Regions from separate parts of the Homo sapiens genome. Here region 2 is linked to region 1. The links are contacts of gene promoters, found by promoter capture Hi-C in blood cells and fetal thymus (Javierre and others, 2016). All regions are on one chromosome and are shown on one strand. Each heading gives the region's core, a stretch centred on a gene start or on the middle of the fragment in contact. The rest is flanking DNA. Distances are from core to core; before and after follow the strand shown. Region 1 holds the start of LINCMD1 (long intergenic non-protein coding RNA, muscle differentiation 1). Region 2 holds the start of LOC124901490 (a long non-coding RNA gene).

Region 1 (5,918 bases), core at 2,573-5,072:
CTTATTGGCCTTCTATGAAGAAAGAACTGAAAATTATTTTGGGGTGGATGAAAATGCAGCTATTCTTAGTTTCCCCAGAGGAAAATTCAAGAGGAAATGGGTTTACACAGCAGTAGGGGGGGGTTTATGTGGGGCATAAAGGAGCGTGTTCAGGACAAGGTTCTGTCAAGAATGTGCATGGAGCATGTTTCCTTGGCATACAGGATGGTCAGAGCAGGGACCACACGGGGTCTTGGATGACATAGTGTCTAAGGTGACCCCACCGACCCTTCCCCCAGCTCTCCCTGTCTGTAGGGATTTAGGGGGACACTGAATGGTGATTTAGTGAATGGTGAGTTAGGGTAAAACTCAGCCTTGTTTTTGAAAGAGCCATTAGGTGAAGGAATGGCCAGATGTACAGCAAGGATGGTGAGATCTGATTCACAGCAGGCTGCCAAACTTCATCTGCCATAGTGACCTGTGTTCTCTCCTTACATATTTTTATTGTTTTAAATTTGGATAGCCCTGACAGTTGGAAATTGGGAGTGGGGCAGGGGATTACTATTTTACATTATAAGCTTTAAAAATTTAAACCTTGTACATGTATAGCTTTGGGAAAAATAAAAAGACATAAAAATAAAAAATCTCTGTGGCTTACTTTTTGTTACAAGTAATACATGCTAGCTGGGAAAAATTTAGAAAATTCAGAGAGGCCGTCCTCCAAAAATCCATTGTCTAGAAATATTTACTCTTGGACCTTTGGTCTAGATTCTTCCATATTTTTCTTAACATATACATACATGTATTTTTCTTAAAAACAGAAATGGATTGTGTTAGTTTCCCTTTGTGAGTTAACAATATGTCTCCAGAGTGTCAAAGGGTATATATTTGATGCTATATGAGTTAGGGCACTTTTGTTTGCAAATGATGTAATTTCAGTGTTAAGTGCCTTAGGTAAAAAGGAATACAGAATATAGGAACTGGGCCTTGGGAACAACCACGTCCAGGACTGAAATACCTCTGGGGCTCTGTATCTGTTCTCTCTTTGGTTTCTTTTTAAGTAATTGGTTCATTCTTATCTCTTACTAAGCACTACTGAGAAATACTGGGAATAATTTTGAAGCTTCACATCTTTCTATTTTAACTTTCCAAGGAAACACAGCTTTAATTTTTATAGACCAATAATCCAAACTCCCATGAAAGGGCTCACTAGGATGGCTTAAGTTAGAGAAAGGTGCATGGTTGTAAAGGTTCTTGGGGAAGCATGGTGAATGGAGGGAGGGAGAGGTAATTTTAAGAATAGCCAAGGGGGCTGGGTGCAGTGGCTCACGCCTGTAATCCCAGGACTTTGGGAGGGCAAGACGGGTGGATCATGAGGTCAAGAGATTGAGACAATCCTGGCCAACATAGTGAAACCCCGTCTCTACTAAAAATACAAAAATTAGCCAGGCGTGGTGGTGGGTGCTTGTAGTCCCAGCTACTTGGGAGGCTGAGGCAGGAGAATCACTTGAACCCAGGAGGCAGAGGTTGCAGTGAACTGAGATTGCACCACTGCGCTCCAGCCTGGCAATGGAGCAAGACTCCATCTCAAAAAAAAAAAAAAAAAAAAAAGAATAGCCAAGGGAGGGAGACTGAGCTGTTAACAGAGAAAGAGAAGATTCTGGGCAGAGAAGATAATAGCCTTCTTGATGCCTATGTATTGATAAATGATGCTTTGAAGAGTATAGACCTATATTCACTCCCAGCTATGTATGAGCTGCTGTTTTCTAACAGTCTTGCCAGCCCTGGGAATTACCATCAGAAAGAAACTCGTTGATGGACTGCACTAATGGGATTTTCTTGTTTGTCTGGATTCCTGCCAGTTAGATAGCCCCGCACTATTTTCCGTCAACTCCTTCCGGGGAAGAGCTCCTTCAGCACGCCTGTGCTATCACTTTCTTCCTCCCAACACTCACCAGATGTGGGGGTGGGGTCCATTCTGAGGGTGACCAAGAGTCGTCATGTTTGACCGGTGTGACATCATGGGCTGCCACTTACTGGCACAGGACTGATGATGATACAGGAACACACATAAAGGGACACAGCAGCAATCACAAAACCACACACCCCACTGGGTGGCCTAACCTAGATTTCTGCCCTGAAGAGGGGCTGTGGCAGGATGAGCAACCGCAACCCGTGGGCAGCAGTCCCCATTCTCTGATTCCTCTTGATTTCTTACGGAAATGGAGAGTTTGGGCTTGTGGGACCTTTGAACATGGATATCAAGGTCATTCAAACTTACCAGAAAACATGTTTTCTTAAAGGTTCTGTCTTTTTATAGTGGTGAGTGGGAGCAGGAATACATTTGCTCCCCTCCTGGTTTAAGGAAAATCAAACAGAAATGTGAATGGAAGTTGAATTCTCCAGGAGTGAATAAGAGGGGACAGTACGATATTTTGACTTTGGAGGCAGGCTATGACTAGAACTCCTTCCATCCTGTGGCCCTCAAAGATGTGTTCTGCAAAGACCCTTGAGGGCAAGGGGATAGGTAGAAAGTTGGATGACAATGTTCACTCATGTTCTCCAACCCTTGCCAGAAGTGTGCTAGCTTGCTCCCCTTCCCTCTCCTCCCCTCCTCTCCTTTTCTTTTTCTTTATTCCTTTCTCTCTCCTTCCTTCCTTTCCTTTACCTTCTTTCTCTCCCTCCCTCCCTCTCTCCCTTCTTAACTTCCTTCCTTCCTTCCCTCCCTCTCTCACTCCTTCCCTCCCTCTCTACCTCCCTCCCTCTTCTTTCCTTCTTTTTTTTTCTTTTGTTTTTGAGACAGGGTCTCACTCTGTCACCCAGGCTGGAGTGCAGTGGTGCCATCGCAGCTCACTGCAGCCTCAATCAAACTCCTGGGCTCAAGCGATCCTCCCACCTCAGCGTCCCCATCCCTGTGCCCAGCTAATTTTTGGTATTTTTTGTAGAGATGGAGTTTTGCTCAGGCTGGTCTTGAACTCCTGAGCTCAAGAGATCCGCCAGCGTTGGCCTCCCAAAGTGCTGGGATTTATAGACAAGAACCCTCATGCCTGGCCTGGCTGGCTTCTTTCTAACAGAGAGAAGACATTATTTAGTCTTAGCCTTATATGTCTTGTCCAGTTTTATCAGGCATTTTAGCCATAATATCCCAAATATGAAAGTGACCCTTTTTTAACACTCCTTTTACCTATACCTGGCATTGTTATCTAATCTTTACCTACATGACCTCTGCCCTTCCAGATGGAAAAGATCCCTCCTGTTAAGGACAGCTGGTATTTGGCCACATCATGTTTGTTTTCTGTTCTGCCAGGTGACTTCCGGGTGACAGCTCTGCGACTGCGCTTCAAGATCACCCTGCTTCTACTCCCAGAGGCATACCCCTAGTTCGCAGGGAAGTTCCATTTCATCACAGACCTGGGAAGCAGAGAGAAGCTTGTTGCCATCCTTCCCCCACACCTTACTACTGCTTTGAACCAGTGTGCTGCATTGAAAGAGATAAGTAGAAATAGTTGAACCAAAAATTACATGATCCCATAGTTTGTGCTTAAAATAAACAAAGAAGCTGATCTTTCAGTGAACATGTTTTTATTGAACACCAACTTAATTTCAGGAACATTTCAGGTACATTGTCAGAAATAAAGACTCTTAAGAATGTATTATTATGTACCCAATACTGGTTTCAGGCCTTTACATGTATTCTCATGAAACTCTATGAAGTAGATATTATTATCAATATTCCTACTTTACAGATGAGGAAACCCAGGCCTGGAGAGGTCAAGCAACTTGCTCAAGTGGCACAGCTGGAGAGTGGGGAGCTGGGACTTGAGCCCAGGTAGTGTGTCCCCAGCACCTTCAACTAAACTCCATTCTGTGCTGCCCTTTGGAACACCCACTCAATGGCCTTCACACTCCATGTCCTACTTGGGAGGACATGTGATCTCAACAGCACTCACAAATGAAGGCTTTCCAGACAGGATATTGAAGATGGTAAGATCAGTCTCATGTATAAAGCATTTTTTAAAAGTAAAGCATATTATATGCTAGTCATATGTACTAGGGTGAATGCATGTATGCTACATGCTAGTAGAATTAATAGTTGGAATATAAAAATACCCTATAGGCTGGGCACGGTGGCTCACATTTGTAATCCCAGCACTTTGGGAGGCCAAGGCGGGCGGATCACTTGAGGTCAGGAGTTCAAGACCAGCCTGGCCAACATGGTGAAACCCTGTCTCTACTAAAAATATAAAACTTAGTCGGGTGGTAGTGGTGCGTGCCTGTAATCTCAGCTGCTTGGGAGGCTGAGGCAGGAGAATCGCTTGAGCCTGGGAGGCGGAGGTTGCAGTGAGCTGAAATCGTGCCACTGCACTCCTATCTGGGCAACAGAGTGAGACCCTGTCTCAAAAAATAAACAAAAACAAAAACAAAACAACAACAACAAAAAACAAAACCCTACAGTGAGCAATGAGCCTTTATGTATTTTTTGAGTTCTTCTCCTATTTTTTTTTTAATTTGGCTCTTTCCTTCTACATACAAGTGCCTGTGGACACAGCATTGTCCTTGTGCTGTTGCCATTTACAGCAGTAAAACAACAGCTACTATTTCTTAAGGGCTTATATTTGGCTCTTTATTAACACTGTCTGTTTTAAGCCTTACGGTAACTGAGGTTGGTATCATTGTCCCCATTTTACAGATGAGTAAACTAAGGCTTGTGCAATGTTAATTGAGCTGCGGAGAGGATATATCACAGCTAATAAATTAGAGGGGCAGCATTCAACCCCAGGTCTTCCTGAATGCAAAGATTTGTGCTAGTAAGCTCTGTGTTCTCCTCTGAGGTCACTGTGGTGGGCTCTAGGCACTTATGCTACCCCATTTGTGTCAGAATACAGCATGTGAACACACATGTCTATAGAATTTTAAACCCAAATATTTACTTATTACTGTCTAAGTTCCAGACACACACCATAAAAGATACAAATCTTAAAAGATAAACTGGAAGGACAGGTCAGAATTCTCCCTTAGTAAAAGGTAGCGATTATGAGAACTTAGCTCATTACAGCCTCCATCTCCTGGACTTAAGTGATCTTCCTGCCTCAGCCTCCCAAGTAGCTAGGACTATAGGTGTGCACTACCGCATTCAGCTAATTAAAACAAAAAAAATTTTTTTTTGGTAGAAACAGCATCTTGCTATGTTGACCAGGCTGATCTGGAACTCCTGGCCTCAAGCAATCCCCTGTCTTAGCCACCCCAAATGCTGAGATTTTAGGCATAAGCCACTGTGCCTGGTGTGACAGGTACTATTATCCCTATTCTACAGATCAGGGAACTGAGAAATGATTGCTTAGTGAATAGATATCTTGGGCTGAATAGATCAATAGAGACTTGATGATACATAATGTGCTAGGCATATTTGGTGGGATAGGTAAGAATTATGCCTTGGAACTAGCCATGCTATAACTTGCAATTCAATTGGATCACACCATATATACATGTCTAATTTCTTTCCTTAGACTGTTAGCCCCTAGTGAGCAGGAGCCCTGTCTTCTATGTCTCATGCTCTTCCCCTGGCTGGCTTAGGGTTGGCACAAACTCCATCCTCAAACTCTTTCTTGACTGTGTGTCTGTCAAAAGCATGTAAGTGGCTGCAGCTGTGAGTGCAAAGGCACAGAACAGTGTGTGTTGAGCATTAAAATCTTGCTCACTTTTGACTCCAGGACTCCTCTTCTCTTCCTTCCTGGGAGCATAAGAATATGGTGAAAAAACCAGAATTGTTTTCTCAAGGAAAGTTTTAGTAGGTAATTTCAGTTGCAGTTGAATCTCTTCTGTTTCTCCAAGGACTGGGCATTGCCAGCCCTGCTGTAGCTGGTTGAAGGGGACCAAACCTCTCAGGAAGACGGACTTGGTTCCGTTTGACCAGCCAGAGCAGGGGGCATCTTTCTTCT
Region 2 (5,869 bases), core at 2,083-4,582, 1.3 Mb after region 1:
CGAGAAAAGCCCCTGACTTTATCAGAATCTCGATTTTCTCTGAGAGCGTGCCCACATTCAGTAGCACCACATTCCCCATCAGAGCTTAAAAGGGTGGGGTGGGGTGGGGGGAGGCGAGGAAAAGGGAAAGAAAAATAAAATAAATAAAAACATTCCTAAATTAAAGTTGTCAGATTTCAGCCTTAAAGTCCCTTTTCAGAGCAGCGAAGTCTTCCCTAGCCAGCTTTTCTAAAAGTTAAAAAAAGCTGAGAAAACCGACCGGAAATCTACGAGTAAATAGCTTAAAAATATATATCATTTGGGGTATCAAGAAGCTCAAATTCTCTATCTGCAAAGCTCTAAGGTGCATCTGGGGGTGTCGACTCACCTCATAGATATCTTCGTACTTGACATTCTCCACAAGCTTCCAGAGCATGATGGCAGCCTGGTCTCTAGGAGGTGAGTGCATTCATGTGAGGAGCAGATGTCTGGCTTCTCAGGACTCCGCTGTCTGTAATGATCCATCTATAATTGGAAATGGGGGATACACACCAAATCCGACGCTCCTCTCCCATCGCAACTTATATCTGTTGTCTCAAACAATAGGCTGGACAAGTAAGCCTCAGCAAAGAGAAAAAACATTATTGCACACACAGGAGTTAGATGCAACCCACAGACATATATACTATAAAAATCATAAACCCGTATTTACACCCAGACACCCACATATAGTTATATAAGCACCTCTGGGTCACACAGTCTGCAGACTCCAAATGTGCATTTAACAAAGAGTTGTTCAGGGTGATTAATATAATATATACATTTTATAACTTCTATATCGAAAATGACACATCATTGTAGCCACTAACTGAAGTCTTTGCAATTCATAATGAGAAACCAGGGGCCATCAGTCCCCTATTTTCTATGTAGATTTTAAAGGGGGACACTTACCAAGATTTTTAAACACAAAAGCTCCCTCCTATTCATGTATGTTCCGGAAGAGAGTATTTTGAAAGGCTGGATATGGGGGATTTTAAGGACTATCTCTGTGTTGATGGCTACACAACTTTTTTTTTTTTAACTTTATCTCTGTCACCATAGAACAAAAAAGCTAGCCACCGTTGATGACCATTTCTAATATTTTCTGGTCATTTTACCTAAAACCTTTGGAAACTTAAATACACCTCAGTTTGTGCTGCTTGTTATTTTAGGTGTTGTTTGTATGCATTTTCAACGGATTCCATGCACCATTCCTCTTGGCTGGAGTCTCCATTTTATCAAGTTTTTTTCAGATGTTGGAAGCAACGTACGCACACGTTCAGACAAGGTTAATTTTGAGCCTTTTTTGCAGAGGCCAAGGACATTTTATATTTGCATCTGTTGTGTATGACTTGTAAGTGGTTTTAATCATGGAGAGTCAAGAAAGGGCCACCCGAATCTTTGAAAAGGTTTAAGCAGAATGTCTTCAAAGAGATAGTGAAAAATATTTTAGTGCATGTGGAGTTTCTTCTTTTTTTTGTATAATTTTTCTTAATAAGATGATTCATATAGTTTTTAAAAAGGAAAACATCATCAGCAACAAGAACAATATTAACCAGACTTAGAAAATGGGCACCATTTAAGGCGCAGGGATTCTGAATTTTATCATGAAATGAATACTCATCTGTTCCCCTGTTCCCCCTTTCCCATCCCCTCTGTTTTTCTACTCCCTTTCAGGGTGCGGAGAGCTTCTCATAGCCGGAACAGACGCCCAGAAGAGGATCTCTGCGCCTGGGACAGAAAAGAAATGCCAGGAGGGACCGAGGAGGGATGGGGCAATTTGGGGTGGAAGTTATTAAGCCTGGTGAGAGTGAATCTGCAAAGGGTGATTGTCTTTAAATCCAGGACTGCTGTGTGCAGCTCTGCGCGAACAGGGATGGACGCTGTTTGAGTACAGGGCTCCGGACAACCTTGTTGGACGTCGATTCAATCAAAACCAAGGAGAAGCTTCATGAACTGCAGAATAAACAATTCTGCAGATTTTTAATTTAATTTTTAAAGATAAGTCAAAGGAAAAGAACACAAAGAAGGTGCTTCAGAAGGAACTTCAGAAATAAACCCCTTATTTCCGGTTGAATTTTTTATGTTTCGTCTTTCCTTTTCTCCTCTTCCTCCTTTTTGTTTTCCTTTTTTCTTTCCTTCATTTCCCTTTTCGTTCCTTCCTTTCTCTCTCCATTCCTTTCTTCCCCTTTAAATGTTAACCTTAAATCATACACAATCTATACAGATTTTTCACTAGGAGCATCAGCAAAGATTTTCTTCTTTGCTTCCAGAGCTAGTTAGGAGATGAGAAGGGATTTTTCTTAATCTTATTGTGTGGTGGGACTTGAAACGGGTTCCACACCCCCTGACTTCTAGAACTAAAATCAGTGCCAGATCAATAATCTGAAAGATAAATATTATAGACTTGGAAGTTCAGATTCTCCAGGCACAAGACATTTAATTAATGGAAATAATTGTTTTCTCCCTTTCAAATCAATAATTCTGTCATTGTTATTACCTAAAGATCATTACAACCCAAATAAAATGCATTTGGAAAAATCTCACTTTTTTTCTCTAAATGCTTTTAACACCTTTTAATATCTTTTTGGTATATTATTGCCTAGTCTAAAATAAATAAACTCTGAGATTTAACAAAACAAAACCTGCAAGAGATAATTTTACACATAAATTAAAATAATATAAGGTATTGTGTTAGTATAACTATTTTATAGCCTTATATATGAATAATTTCAAACTTTTTATGTGTAATTTTATTTTATGCTAGTATTAGGTATTTTTTAAAGTGGAAATATCTTGAGATATTTGGTTAAAATTTAAGTTCTTTAGGAAACCTGAAAAATAACAAATCTGGTTTTATTAAGAATGAAGCATAAACCTAAAAATATACACATATATATAGAGAAATACCTTCAAAATACATAACCATAATTAAAATCCTAGTTATTTTTTTTAACGTGGGCGTTATTCGAAAAGTCCTAGACATTGCAAGGTAAACCGTTCCCACGGACCGTTCCCTGTCATTGAACGGGCAACAGCGCCCTCTGTCGGAATTTTATAGACGCAAACCCTGCAAGTCTCCTTGATTTCTTTTTCGGCAAAGGTTTCTTTCCGTTCTTGAAAACCTGGTATTGAGAGGAACATTTTTAAAGTTCACTTCTTATGATATTTACTAATTTTAGAAACGATCGTTCCAGCATCTAAAAAGTTCAAACGCCCGAAGAAACGCACAATAAAAGCTCAGCCGCTACGGAGAAAATTTTTCCTAACTTGAACCTACCTCTCTTGCTTTTACTTTCTATTACCTTTCGCGTTATCACTCAATCACATGACGTAGGGAAACTATTCCCGCAAGAACTCAGTAAATGGAAACACAAAGGCAAAACAAACTCTGGATTTGAAGGAAATTAAACGAGTAAAATATGCATTTTCCTCGTTATTTTATCTTGCCTTATGTCCATATTTCTTTTTCAGGTTACGCACATGCTCTCCTAGGTGGAACCGCACTTGAGACATCCCAGATAGTTAACACTCGTACTTTCCTCTTTCATTTGCATTTATTTCAGTTTAAAACAGCAAAGAAAAGAATTATTCATACCCTCTTTTTTTTTCAGCCTCATATAGAGGGAATATTATTCAGTAAATGTCGGAGTCTATAATTAAAAGCAAATGCACCCAGCATGAAGCCCTCTGCTGGTGATTTTCGAAGTATGTTCAGGACTGTTTTTTAAAAAATGTACAGAAAAATATCATTATTAAATCAAGGTCAACTAGGAGCACTTTCATGTCTTCTTTCATCTTTCTTCTAAAAATCTAATTATGAATTATCTAAATTTATTTGACTTCCTTCCTTCCACTAGCCCTCACCTTTGCACCTGTGGGTTAACACTCCATGAACTATCTTCCTTTGCAGATGCCCACTGTACCACCTTTTCTTTTTCCATTACACAGTCTCCCTGGGTTTCCCCTTTCCATCTACCCAACGCACAAAAATAATAAAATTAGAAAAGTCAAGAATTAGAATTATTGTGCCAAGTTTGCACCCTGGCCTTTCTCATTCTAGGCGGTGGGGCAGGCTATTTAATAGCCTGAGGTTCAGTGCACTGAACTACAAAATGGAAATGATTGTGAAAATTTATTAAAATAGTATCTGTGGGTAAATATATGTGGTACTATTGCTTCATAAACAATTTAACTTATCATCATTGTCTCAAAACACTTAGCGGGGGGTCAGGAAAGTGGAGGCTTCTAAAAACCAGGGATTTGCAATAAACTCCTGGTTAGAAAGTGGAGGTGGGAAACCCAATATAGGTCTTCAGACTGTGTACTCAACGCTTTGCCCACAGTCTCATGATGCTGTCTTACTTCTTTCCTTCTGAAGTTAAGAAGACAGTATTTTTGGATCATTGAGTATGTCCAGGGTTATTTTTTATAGTCCTGGATTTATAAGTAGGCAAAGGAAAGAAGAGAGGAAGGAAAAACTGTCTTACTTCAGCATCCTCAGATATTGCCCCACCTCTTACCCATCAGAAGCATTATTGTCTGCTGAGTTGAATAATAAGACACGACATCCATATAACAGATCTTGATAAGTTAAAAAATGATAAAACATGACAGCTCCATTTTTTACTGTTGCAGTCTGGCTCCTAATTTTCCTACCATGTTTCTGTCTTAAGCTTTCTCATGATTATATTTTTGGGGAAGATTCAGTAGGTGTTTTTATCATCAATTTGGAAACAAAATACTGTTGAATGTCTGAAACTACAATTTAAGCACCTGCCTTCAGATTTCTAGGGCTTTGATACCATATAGGTTTCAGTGACTTGGTATGAGGAAACAAAATAGGAGGGACTAATGTTTGCACAGGAGTGTTTTTAAAAAATGAAATGTGGGTGGGGTTATCTTTAGACTGACTCTTCATAATTATCGAGATTGAGGCAAGCACTAAACAGGAAAGAGCATTTCTTACTTTAATCATAATATTTAGTTGATGGTACATTTGTAAATTTGTAAAAGATACTGAGTTGAAATCACTTGTGAGAATAAAAATAACTGTAACTGTGAAAACTCACCCTTTCCCTGGGACTTTTGAGGAGCAATAGTAATTTCATTATAGATTTTAGATGTCCTGATCCCCTTAAGCTTTTCTGTTTAACTACGGGGGTATGAAGTGGCTAAGGGGACAGTTTTGAAATTCCTATCTCTTGGAGGTAAAGAGGTTAAGGAAAGGAAGATGAGGGGCTGAAGCAAATGATGCAAACAGCCATGCAACAATTGTTTTCAACACCAATGGGCATTTCACATTCAAAATGTGAGAGGTGTGTGTCTCCTCTGCCATGACTAATGCAGGAGGACAGGTACTTTCATCATTGTGGATGTTTTCCATATTATTGCTTTAAGAAGGAGAAATCTTGAAGGGTGAGAATACTAAACAATTTGGTTTCAAAATGCAACCAGTAGACCAGTACACATCTGTGAGGAAAAAAATTTGCAAATAAAGACTTTGAAAGATGTAGAGCAGAAATATAACCTTTAAAGCATGAATAAACACATACAATGTATAGCATCAGAGCTGAAGTGTCTCATAAATACAAGGGACATTTGGGAGAAATTAGCATTATATTGGAACTACTTCCTAAAATTCACGATTTGACATTCTGATAAAAATAGGGAAGGATCTTCATTTTATGCCTCTTTTTTATTTCTTTGACATAAGATGAGTTTTTCACTTACCAGTTATATTCCCTTTGGCAAGTCCTCTGACCTTTCCAGATCTCAGTTTTCTCGTTGATAAAATGAGGAGAATTCGGCCAGAAGCTCATGCCTGCAATCCTAGCACTTCGGGAGGCTG

The links. Contacts are between HindIII fragments. The CHiCAGO score rates a contact against its expected background, and 5 or more counts as called.
Region 2: a contact is called between a fragment that was not itself captured here and the fragment with the promoter of LINCMD1 in region 1, in 1 of 17 cell types (neutrophils). The highest score is 9.8, in neutrophils.

Annotation. Positions count from the first base shown.
Region 1 is chr6:52,148,927-52,154,844 of GRCh38, reverse strand. It overlaps LINCMD1 (long intergenic non-protein coding RNA, muscle differentiation 1), which reads left to right and starts at 3,822. Exons shown (of 3, transcript NR_131248.1): 1 at 3,822-3,963. It overlaps MIR133B (microRNA 133b), which reads right to left; the gene lies at 5,804-5,918. RefSeq lists an enhancer at 1,700-1,994. The HindIII fragment of the contact is 4,773 bases long and covers 3,411-5,918 here.
Region 2 is chr6:50,813,471-50,819,339 of GRCh38, reverse strand. It overlaps LOC124901490 (a long non-coding RNA gene), which reads left to right and starts at 314. Exons shown (of 2, transcript XR_007059923.1): 1 at 314-438; 2 at 1,696-2,095. TFAP2B (transcription factor AP-2 beta) reads right to left here and starts at 469. Exons shown (of 7, transcript NM_003221.4): 1 at 368-469. The coding sequence starts at 448. The HindIII fragment of the contact is 2,729 bases long and covers 1,968-4,696 here.